Regions from separate parts of the Homo sapiens genome. Here region 2 is linked to region 1. Evidence: promoter capture Hi-C in 16 types of primary human blood cells and fetal thymus (Javierre and others, 2016). All regions are on one chromosome and are shown on one strand. Each heading gives the region's core, a stretch centred on a gene start or on the middle of the fragment in contact. The rest is flanking DNA. Distances are from core to core; before and after follow the strand shown. Region 1 holds the start of BNC1 (basonuclin zinc finger protein 1). Region 2 overlaps SH3GL3 (SH3 domain containing GRB2 like 3, endophilin A3).

Region 1 (5,234 bases), core at 1,581-4,080:
TCATCTATCGGGTTGGATCGTCTTTCCAATCTGATGATCTTGAGGTACAGAAAGTGGGCATGGGCCTGGGATGCAGGCCTAACTGCTACATGGGGGAGATGCAATAAAACATAAAATAGCCCTCCAGTAAATCTCATGCTTCCAAGGCAATTACTTCATGTTAGTCAATATTTCTAATGAGAATTATAACCACAGCAAACAGATCACTGTAGGTATCAATGGCCAAAGAACTTTAACCACTTTCTGAAGGAGGAGAATGTCCCTAAATCCTTACTAGTCTGAAGGGACACTATAGGTACAGATGATATTCAAATTAAATTATGCAGATGCCTGAACATAATTACGAGTTCCCAAAGTGTGAGCATCATGTGTGCTAGGTGAAGATTTCACCACCTCTTCTCAGCATTTAACTACAACAGGAACACGTTCAACCAACAGTTGACTTGAAATAGTAATAGTTTCTTGGTGAAATTAGTTAGCAAACTTATTAGATGAGAAATCAAACGATGACTCGTATCTTATTCGTTTTAACCATCTGAAAGTATGCCAAAAAGAATAAAGTTATTTCTTAAAATTCATCATCACAAAAGGAGAAGCCATCTTTTCACACCTCTTTAAAGAGCAAATCAAATCCAGTACAATTTGTAACATCTGAAGTAATGTTCTTTTATATGATGTACAAAATTTTATTTTGACAAACTATTTTAACAAGGTTTTAATATGTATCAACGAATCTGGGAAGGGATCAATGAAAAGAGAGTCAGTGTATCCATCACTGAACAAAAGTTTCAATACATTAACACGTATTTGCAAACTCAGGGTCGAAGACTTAGAATCTTATCAAGAGATCCCATAAAATCGAATAGCAAATTAAATAAACAGCGAATGAAAAAAAATCTGCCAAATGCTGTTTTTCAATTCACTTACTGTCAAGCCAAAATCTTGTCGCTTTGATGAAAAGAATATATTTTTAAAAAAATTGTTGCTACATCTGCTCTGTGGTCCTATGCAGTAACACATGTTCTCTCTCCCTCACACACACACTCTCTCTCTCCCTGACAGGGATTCCCAGGACACCGGTGGGGCCTCTTTTAGGCCCCTTAAGTGTTAACAGCAAGAGGCCTGGCTGAGACCAGGCGTCTGGGCCGCTTTAAATGCCCTGGCCTTCAGAGGACTGAGGCGAGCACAGCCATAAAACCAGGGGACGTTACCGAACCCCCGAGCGTCTGATGCCCCCCGCCCCCCAACCACACACAACTTCACTCACACAATTAAGGCTGGGAGATGGCATTCCACTTAACTGTCAGACTCGGAGCGGTGGCAGCCCCGCAGCCACAAAGAGATGCCTTAAATGAGAAGAACATGTTTCTACACCGCATTTGTGAAAGTTTGGCTCGGAGCTACGCGCTGATTAATATCAGATCTCCTTCACTCGCCTCGCCACAATCTTGTCACATCTGGCTGACAAATCCCGAGGAACTCCGGCAAAGCCAGGCGGCGGCGGGGCTCCGGGTCTGGGCGGCGGCTCCGGAGGAGCAGCGGGAGACCCCGCAGCGGCCTCCTCCTTCTCCGCCCGCGGCCCCCAGCCTCGCCGCCGCCGCCCGGCTCCCAGCACGGAACCGACGGGGCGCTCCCGAGACGGGCGAGCCACGCGCTCGCAGGTCCCAAGGCCAGGCTGGGCGGGACTGTTAAGGGAGCTCGAAGTCGGGGGCCGGGGGCTTCCCGTCCCGGCGCTTCCCATGCAAACCCCTGAAGGAAGCGGCAGGCGCAGCCGCGGGCTCCGCAGCCCAGGCCCACTTCCTGTCACTCCAGGAAAACCTCGGAGCGGCGGACGCGGCTCGGCCCGGCTTCCAGCCCAGAGCCCAAGCGCCTTAGCCCCGTCCCAGCGCTTTCTGAAAGACGGGCCACCTCGCGCGGAGCCGCGACAAGGACTCCAGGGTCCGCAGTGAAGCTGGTCAAATCTGCCCCGCACACGGTCAACGCTCGGTCTGTGTCCCGGAAGCTTTCGGACCGGACCTGTCTAAATAGCGACTTTCAGTCGTGGGTTTTTTGTTCTTGTGGGTTTGTTTTGTTTTTTGTTGTTGTTGTTGCTCTACAAAAGATTTGTCCCGCAGTGGACGGGAGCCTCCTCACGGCCGCCCGCCCGTCTCCGCAGTTCTCCTCAGTGACCGGAGGCTGCCGCGCGCCCCGTTCTCCAGAGAAACAATCCCCGGAGAGAAAGACGGCCAGTGTGAAATATCAGCTGTTTCACAAATTCTGAGGTAAAAGAAAAAAAAAAAAAGAAGGGGTCGACCCCCACAGGTGGAAACAGCAAGTCCTAACGTCCTGGGCTGAAGCCTGGGGTGCGGGCGGCAGAGAGTGGCGTGTAGGGTACCCGCCGAGTGCCGCCGCCGATTTCCACAGGCTGGCCCGCCGGCACCTCCGACGCGCCCGCAGATCCGGCGCGGAGACCGTTTGCCAGCTCCGGGACGTCGGGCAGGGACGGGTCCCAGAGCCCCAACCCCCCCGCCGCCGCCTCCCGGCCGGAGACCACGGTCCCTCCCGCCGCGCCTCGGGGCCGCGCTGCCGCGCAGGTAGCCAGCTGGCCCTCGGGAGGTGGCCCTCGGGTACCCACGGGAGCCGGAGCCCAGCGGCGTCCCGGGCCGCCTGCTCCGCGCACAGAGAATCCCCGCGCCCGCGGAGGGCGCCGCGCTTACCTCGGCCATCCTGCGACCGCTGCGGTGCCGGGGCTGCCGGCGCGTCTCCCGGGCCCGGGCCGCCCCGCGTCCGCCCCGGCTCGGCGGGCGCCGCCGCATCCACGCTCCGGCCGTCGGGGCGCGACCCGGCGAAGTGGGCGGCTCCCCAAGCGCCCAGGCTGCGCAGCACGATGGCCGCCCCCGCCGCGCACCGCGTGTGCCCGCACGCCCGCCCCCTGCGCCCCGGGGACGCCTCTCCGCCCCTCCCCCTGCCCCTCCGCCCACCGCGCGGTCGCCCCACGCCGCGGGCGCTGCTTCGCCGCCCGGGAGGCCGCCTCCCGCCCCGGGACCGGATAACGCCCTAAATCAGCGCAGCTGAGGCGAGGCCGTGGCCCCCGCAGACCGCGGAGACCTCGCCGGCGGCCGGCGCGGAGGTGTCTGCCCCCGCCGGGCTTGAAGGCACTTGTTGGTAAAAGACACAGACGTGTCGGTGTTTGCCTCTCCCGGGGAAGGGCGAAACGCTCTGAAGTTCTCTGGCGCTCTTCTCAGGAGATGATTCGGCCTCCCCTCCTACCCTGGGGCGCCCTCGGGGTCTCACTGCCGCGGAGGAAGAAGGCAGCGCCGCCCTCGCCTGCAGAAACCTCATTCCCGAGAAAGTGCGGGACGAGCGTCTTGGGATGTGGAAGAAGGGGGTCGCCAGGAGGTTTTCTTAAGAACTCAAAACAAGCGCCCCCCACCGCACACGCACACACACACACACACACACACACACCCCTTCCCTTGGGTGGTCTGAAGAGTCAAAGTCCCAGCTTGACCACTTTCCCAGGACAAATGGCTTTGCTCTCTGGGCCTCAGTGGCTTCAGTTGTAAAATGGGATTAAGTTTTTCGCGTCTTATTGGATGCTAGGGACGGAATGAAATGAAGTGCCCTGGAGAAGCCAACTGGAGGTGGTGGCCCCGAGAGTAGACGCGGAGGGGCTGAGGCCGCAGGATCCTGGAGCCCAGGAGCTGACGGAGATCGCCCACAGCTGCTGCAGCAGCGCCCGGGTTTCTGCTGCCCCGGGGCAGGGCAAGCCTCTCCCAACCTCTTCAGCTCCTTAAAAGGAGTCTGTAAAGGCTAGACTGGGGGGGCGGCGGGGGTCCTGCTTCCTCTTCCCTCAGTTTCTTCCACCTGCCTTGCTGCTGGTGGGGATCCTTGAAAAGGAAACAAAGCTCTTCCTTCCCTCTCTGAGAGGAAAAGGAAGATGAAGTGAGTTGCCCTCAGCCACCCAGAGTGTGCCTGGTTGTGGCTATGGAAGGCACAGGCAGGTGGAAGGCTTCTGAAGGGAAGAGAAGGGAAAGGAGGGAACAAGGTGTACGAGGAAGAATGTGTGGGTGTCTGGGCGTCCTGGCGTCCTGGGGTCCAGCGGGTCCTTCTGCCTCTCCTGGGGTGGACACACAGGTGAGTGTCCTGGGCCTGATGTGTGGCGCCTTTCCTTGTAGGCTTGAAGTCTCCTGGCCTCACGTGATGGACCTTGCCGTGGGAGGAGATTCTTTTTTTTTTTTTTCACGTGGCTAACTTCTTGATGTAGCTTTGCTAGATTCATTCCGCATCTAAACTGCTTACCTCTCATTCCTCCGTGCCCCCGTATTGAGGCCTTTCTTCTAACACCTCCTTCTCTGTTTGTTGTAACACAGTGCATCTTTGAAGGACTTTCTGGAATGTCACCACATCTCAGAAACCTTCCCTGATCCACCAAGCCTCCACTCGATGTGCTTTTGCCCTGTTGTGACCCCCAGGCACTTTTTTCTGCCTCTTTCATCGTGCCAGTAGCATTGTGTAGCCTAGTTGTGATGTGTGCTTGTCTTAATTCCTTTGGTGGTTACTCATCTTAGTGGCTTCTGTGCTATGAGATACGGTAGCAGATAAACCTCTGGTTTTGCAGTCATAGTGACCCAGGGATAGCTCATTCCTAGCAACTGGAAACTGGCTGAGGAAGTCAGCCTTCTTGGCCCCTCTTTTCTTCTCTATAAAAGCAGATATGAAAGCCTGTCTCAGGCCAGATTGGTAGGACTAAATAAAATAGTCTCTGTTCTGCAAACCCTCTCCCCCTTTCCTTTCTGCTGCATCTAAAACCAATTTCTGGATTAACTTAAATTTGTTACCTACAATAATATTGTAACCAAGAGAGATCCTTGATGACAATATTACTGAATGCCACCTATGCCTATTATAAATACACCACAATGTCTATGTCCCAGGCGGTGGCCCACTTCAATAACTTTAATCTGTCCAATTGAAAGTTTTGGTCATTATCTTTATATTAATTGCAACTAAATTATATGTGTTTTAGTAAAACTTTCTGCTAGCAACAAATATCAGAATCAACTGTGTAACTCTATTCCTGGCTACAAACACAAGAAGGATTCTGGCAGTACATAATTTGAAAACATGAAAACAAGCTGCCTCTTCCAACATGTACTGTTGGGATCGACAGATACATTTTTTTCAAATGTGACAATTTGGACCGACATATAGGGAATCAGTAGGTCGAGATAAAAATTACTAATTAATCTTTT
Region 2 (5,552 bases), core at 325-2,824, 270 kb after region 1:
TTTTGATGTATAATATTTTTATTGTTGTTAAATTTTTTGGTAATTTCTATTGGGGTTTTCTTTTTAATCTGTTATTTAGGACAGAATTTTAAAATTTTGTGCTGATATACTTATTTTTATTGTTGGTTCCTAACTTAATTGCATTATGGTTAAAAAACCCCAAAACCTAATAAACATGCTCTATATGGTATTGATTGACTTTGTTACGTAGTATTAGGTTGGTGCAAAAGTAATTGTGGTTTTTGCCACTACTTATAATATTTTGCAGCAACATAATATATGGTCAGTTTTTGTAATGTTCTATCTGTACTTGCAAGGAATATACATTTTTTAAATTTATTGGCTGGGGGATATAGGTATATGTGCATAATAGTTGACCAAGGTTATTATTTTGGTCATTCAGATAATCAATATCTTTTTCAATTTTTTATCATGTTTGATATGTCAGTTTTCTGATGGAGTTGTGTTAAATCTCCTGCTGTAATTGTGGGTTTATCAGTTTCACTATTTCAGTTTTGCTTTATATTTTTTGGAGGTTATACTAATAGTGGAAACAATATCATTATTATAAAAATTTTGGTGGATTGCTCCTTTTATTATTACATTGAGTCTCTATTCCTATTAATGCTTTGCCTTAGGAAGGTATTTCTTAGGTCAGGCACAGTGGCTCATATCTGAAATCCCAGCACTTTAGGAGGTGGAGGCAGGAGGATCGCTTGAACCTTGGAGCTCAAGACCAGCCTGGGCAACATAGAGAAACCCCATCTCTACAAAAATACAAAAATGAGCCAGGCATGATGCTGTGCACCTGTGGTCTCAGCTACTCCTGAGATCACACCACTGTACTCCAGCCTGGGCAACAAAGCGAGACCCTGTCTCAAAAAAACAAAAAACAAAGACAGGTAGCTCTTGTCTGATATTACTGCTGCAGGCTTTATTTTGATTAGCATTTTCCTAGTATGTACATTTTGTCTTTTCAGTCTTTCTATGTGTTGTGTTTTAGTTGTGACTCTTAGAAGATGTATATAGCTAGATTGTTAAAATTCACTCTATTATTATTTAGTATGTTGAATTTAATCCAATTATATAGATGATCATTACTGATCTATTTAGACTTATTACTATCTGATTTTGTGGTTTCTGTTTGCCATTCCTTCTTCCTCCCTCTCCCTTTATTCTCCCTTGTTTTCTTTTGGATTGAAAAATACTGGTTTTCTAACAGTGTGCTGGTATGGATACTATGTTATAACATGCATAGTTCTATATGGGTATCATAGTTTTGTGTTTTTAGGAGTTACCATTAGTTATATAACACAGATACCTGCTGTGCATTATTGTAATGATGTCTAAAGTTATACCCATTTCTCACCTCCTCCTGAACACACATGAATCTTAGTGTGCTTGAAATATCCACTCAACACCCTTCCCCATTTCTGTGTTATTATTGCTGAAGGTTTTAATTTTGCCCTTGTGTAAACTCAGACACATTGGTTTTTGCTTGTTTGTTTGCCTTTACTCAATGGTAAATTTACCACCATAGTTTCTCAATTTTTATTCTCACCGTTGTTTCCTATGGTCCATACTTTCCCTCTTGGTTCGGTTTTTATTTCCTTGATGTAATACTTTAGCATCACTGTTATTTGAGTCTGTGAAGTCTGAATATGTCTTTATTTTCTTTCTCTCGCTCTTTTTTTTTTTTTTTTTTGAGACAGAGTCTCACTTTGTCACTCAGGCTGGAGTGCGGTGGTGTGATCTCAGCTCATTGCAACCTCTGCCTCCCGAGTTCAAGTGATTCTTCCATTCTCCCACCTCAGTCTTCTGAGTGGCTGAGATTATAGGCACGTGCCACCACATCCAGCTGATTTTTTTTTTGAGACGGAATTTCACTCTTATTGCCCAGACTGGAGTGCAATGGCGCGATCCCGGCTCACCGCAATGTCTACCTCCCGGGTTCAAGCGATTCTCCTGCCTCAGCCTCCTGAGTAGCTGGGATTACAGGCATGCGCCACCACACCCAGCTAATTTTGTGTTTTTAGTAGAGACGGGGTTTCTCCATGTTGGACAGGCTGGTCTCAAACTCCTGACCTCATGTGATCCACCACTTCGGCCTCCCAAACTGTTGGGATTACAGGCATGAGCCACTGCACCCAGCCTTGCTCTTAAACAACAGTTTAGGGAGACAGAAAATTCTAGATTTTTATTGCGCCACCACACCCGGCTAATTTTTGTATTTTTAGTAGAGACAGGGTTTCACCATGTTGGCCAGGCTGGTTTTGAACACCTGACCTCAGGTGATCCACCCGCCTCAACCTCCCAAAGTGCTGGGATTACAGGCATGATCTGTAATCCCGTGCCTAGCCGATTTCTTCTTAACACTTTGATGCCATTCCTTCATTGTCCCTGGCATCTGCTGTTGCAGAAGAGAAATCTGCTGTCAATCTTATTGTTGCTTTGGATGTTTTTTCCCCTGCGATAGTTTTAGGATTGTTTATTTTTGAGGTTTTGCTGCGTCTGGGTGTGAATTAATATTCATCTTGCATGGTACTTGAGTGTGCTTCCAAACTGTAGACTCCTATTTTCCTTCAATTACAGAAGATAAAAGAGCCATTTTACTTGTAAATATTGATTCTCCTATATTCTGTTGTTTTTTTCTGGAGTGCCTGTTGGATATATCTTGGAATCTCTCACTTATCCTTCATATCTATTAACTGATATTTCCTTAAAAAAACTCTTCATCTCTGTTTATTTTATGTTCTTTAAGTTCCTTAATATTTTCCAGCTTACCAGTTCTTTCCTGATTGCGCCCAGGCTGGAGTTTGTCCCATCTATTGGGTTTTTCATTTTTATGACTATATAATACTTTTTGTTTCTAATGTTTTATGTCTATCTTGAAAATTTCTTCCCTTTTGTATAATTGTTTGCTCTTCATTAATAGAAGTTATTCCTTTATCTATCATTTTAATAATATCCTAAACACACATTAAAAAGTCTATATTGTTTCATAAAACCGTTTTCTCTAGAAGTGAATTCATGTTATGTTATGTGATTTTGTCGGCTCTCTTTCTTGGTGTTATATTTTATTCATGTGCCTTGGAATTTAGATCTAGGATGAATTTTAATTCCAACTTCTTGTGCTCACTTCTCTCTAGTGATTGTGGCTTCTTCCACCCAGCTTCCCAAGGCCCCAGTACAAAACCGTGGTTTCTGTTCTGTGGTGATATTGGGGCTATCTGGATCCAGTCACAGAGCTGGAGGGGGTGGGGATGTGACTTGACTGATTCTTTGTTCTTCAGTCTCCTTGGGCCTGCAGATTGCCACATGTGGTAGCATCAGACAGGGGTTTACATCTGAATTTTTTTTCCCAGCCTCATTTGCTTTTCCATCCCCAGCTGTAAGCAGAACTTGAACCCAGACTCTGGTCTCATGGAGCACTTTTAGATCCTTTTGTACTCAGCAGGAACCAGACTGCTGGCTGTCATAGCCTGTGTGCAGGCAAGAAGCCCAGCAGGCCCGAGGCTTCAACCTTGTTCATCATGTTGTGTTTCTGTTCATTTTCAGATTCACAAAAATGTTTATTCTGTTTTTGAGCATTGCTTATCTTTCTGGTTTTCTTTTTTTGATATTTAATTTATCCTTGCTATGTATTCAAGGCATAAAGAGTGCATATTTTGATATTTAATCTATCCTTGATTTGTATTCAGAGCATAGGGAGTGCATCGGAGTTGAATTTGAATAGTCATCTTCACCAGAAATAGAAGCTTGAGTATTTATATTTAGCTTCCAGCACCTAGAGGAAATAACCTTGTAACCTTGGAAGGAGGCCAGGTGCCCTGTAGGAATCACGTCTATCTTTTTTTATCTTTCTATCCCAAGTACCAGTCATGTCCCTGCACATAGTAGATGCTCAACAAACAATATTTGTTCATTGACTGACCTCTGAAATATAATTACGTGGCCTAAACAGCTAATGCTATATGTGTATTTATACTTAATGTATCAAAACAGTAAACACCACTGGGAAATTCAGGAAAAGCAGAAACGAATGATCATGACTCTTAACCTGTGACTCCTGTTGAAAATGATCCCATATGTTGTCTTTTCAAACAAGATATATTCATGTCACTAGTTTCTGTTCTTGAAAGTAGAAACACTACTCCTTCTATTAGACATTTTGGTTTCTGAAAATAGAACAAGTAAAACCTGAACAAGTGCGAACTCGTTCGGATTAAAGGGATTTCGGGTCCAACTCTCCAAGCCAAAGGGATTTTCAAATGGTTATTTTAAAACGTGGATCTACATGTGGGCTTCTGTGGTTTCAATAGTCACAGGAAATGCAGGCCACTGTATCAGTCAGCTTTTGCTATATAACACACCATCCGAAAACACAGCGACTTAAGACAAAAAAAAAAGTTCATTTAGTTTATGATTCTGTGGGTCAGCAATTTGGGCTGGGAGCACTGGGTGGGTGGATGTGCTGGTGTGGTTGATCGCTGCTGGGCTCACTCACCTGTTGCCGGTCAGCTGCCAGGTGAGCTGAGGGCTTGATGGCCCGAGGTTGCTCAGGTGGGATGGCTGATCTCTGATCCACGTGGTCTTTCATTCTCCAACAAGGCAGCCCAGACTTGGTCAGGTGGAAGCAGTCACAGCGGACCTGACAGAGTGAGCAGAAGTATCTGTAGAGCCTCTTTGTGAGTACTGATTTGGAATTTATAGCTATACAGTGTGGTTTACACTCTTCTATTGGCCAAAGCAAGTCGAAGCGTGGAAAAATAGACTTCTTAATGAGAGGAGCTGCAAAGCCTGTGGCCACTTTTGTACTCTACCATGGCAACAAAACGTGGAGGTGCCACTCCCCACCCCAGGAGAGATTGTGTAACTTTCCTTAGATCCTCAGGCTATTACCTCCAAAGTTGAGAACCAATATGTTGGATGATTTCACTACTGAACAACAACAATGAAAATGTTTAGGAGAGTTAACTGATGGACACATCTGTTAAAACACTGCTTGGTGTGTGGAAATGAAATTTTTCATTTTTTCTATTGGAAGTTATGCCTTGTATCAAGACATTAGGTTAATTCTCTCTGACTTCTGTACTCAGCCTGAAAAGTAAGGATTCTTGTTCAGTGTACCAGATAACTTCTATTATGTGGCAAACCACTCCAAAATTCAGTGGTTTAAAGCAATACCGTTTATTGGACTCCTGTTCCCATGCCTCAGCAGATGGGGCTGATCTCAGCTGGGGTCTCTCACGTTACTGCAGTCACCTGCAGGTCAGCTGGGTGGCTCTGATTCTGGGGATGGACTGGTTGTACCTTGGTGGGTGTCTGGGCCACTTGTTTCTCTCCATTCAGTTAATTTGCCTGGGCTTGCTTGTTCACAGGGTAGCAACAGTGTTTCTAGAGAGTGAGTAGAAGCACACAAGATCTCTTCCTGCCTAGCTAGGCTTGTTTCTGTGGGGTCAAAACAAGTCACAAGCCCAGCCCAGATTCACTAGGTGGGAAGATAGACTCCAACTCTAGCTCGGAGGAACTGTAAAGACGCAGGACAGGGA

The links. The method cuts DNA at HindIII sites, captures the fragments that hold promoters and counts their contacts. A CHiCAGO score of 5 or more calls a contact.
Region 2: a contact is called between a fragment that was not itself captured here and the fragment with the promoter of BNC1 in region 1, in 1 of 17 cell types (M2 macrophages). The highest score is 5.7, in M2 macrophages.

What each region holds. Positions count from the first base shown.
Region 1 is chr15:83,281,834-83,287,067 of GRCh38, forward strand. It overlaps BNC1 (basonuclin zinc finger protein 1), which reads right to left and starts at 2,831. Exons shown (of 5, transcript NM_001717.4): 1 at 2,697-2,831. The coding sequence starts at 2,795. It overlaps BNC1-AS1 (BNC1 antisense RNA 1), which reads left to right and starts at 2,179. Exons shown (of 3, transcript XR_932542.3): 1 at 2,179-2,261. RefSeq lists enhancers at 2,222-2,722, 3,492-3,992. The HindIII fragment of the contact is 5,658 bases long and covers 2,001-5,234 here.
Region 2 is chr15:83,552,333-83,557,884 of GRCh38, forward strand. The region is part of intron 1 of SH3GL3 (SH3 domain containing GRB2 like 3, endophilin A3); the gene reads left to right. Among named protein-coding and RNA genes, the nearest start is that of ADAMTSL3, 99 kb to the right of the region's middle. The HindIII fragment of the contact is 4,363 bases long and covers 1-3,756 here.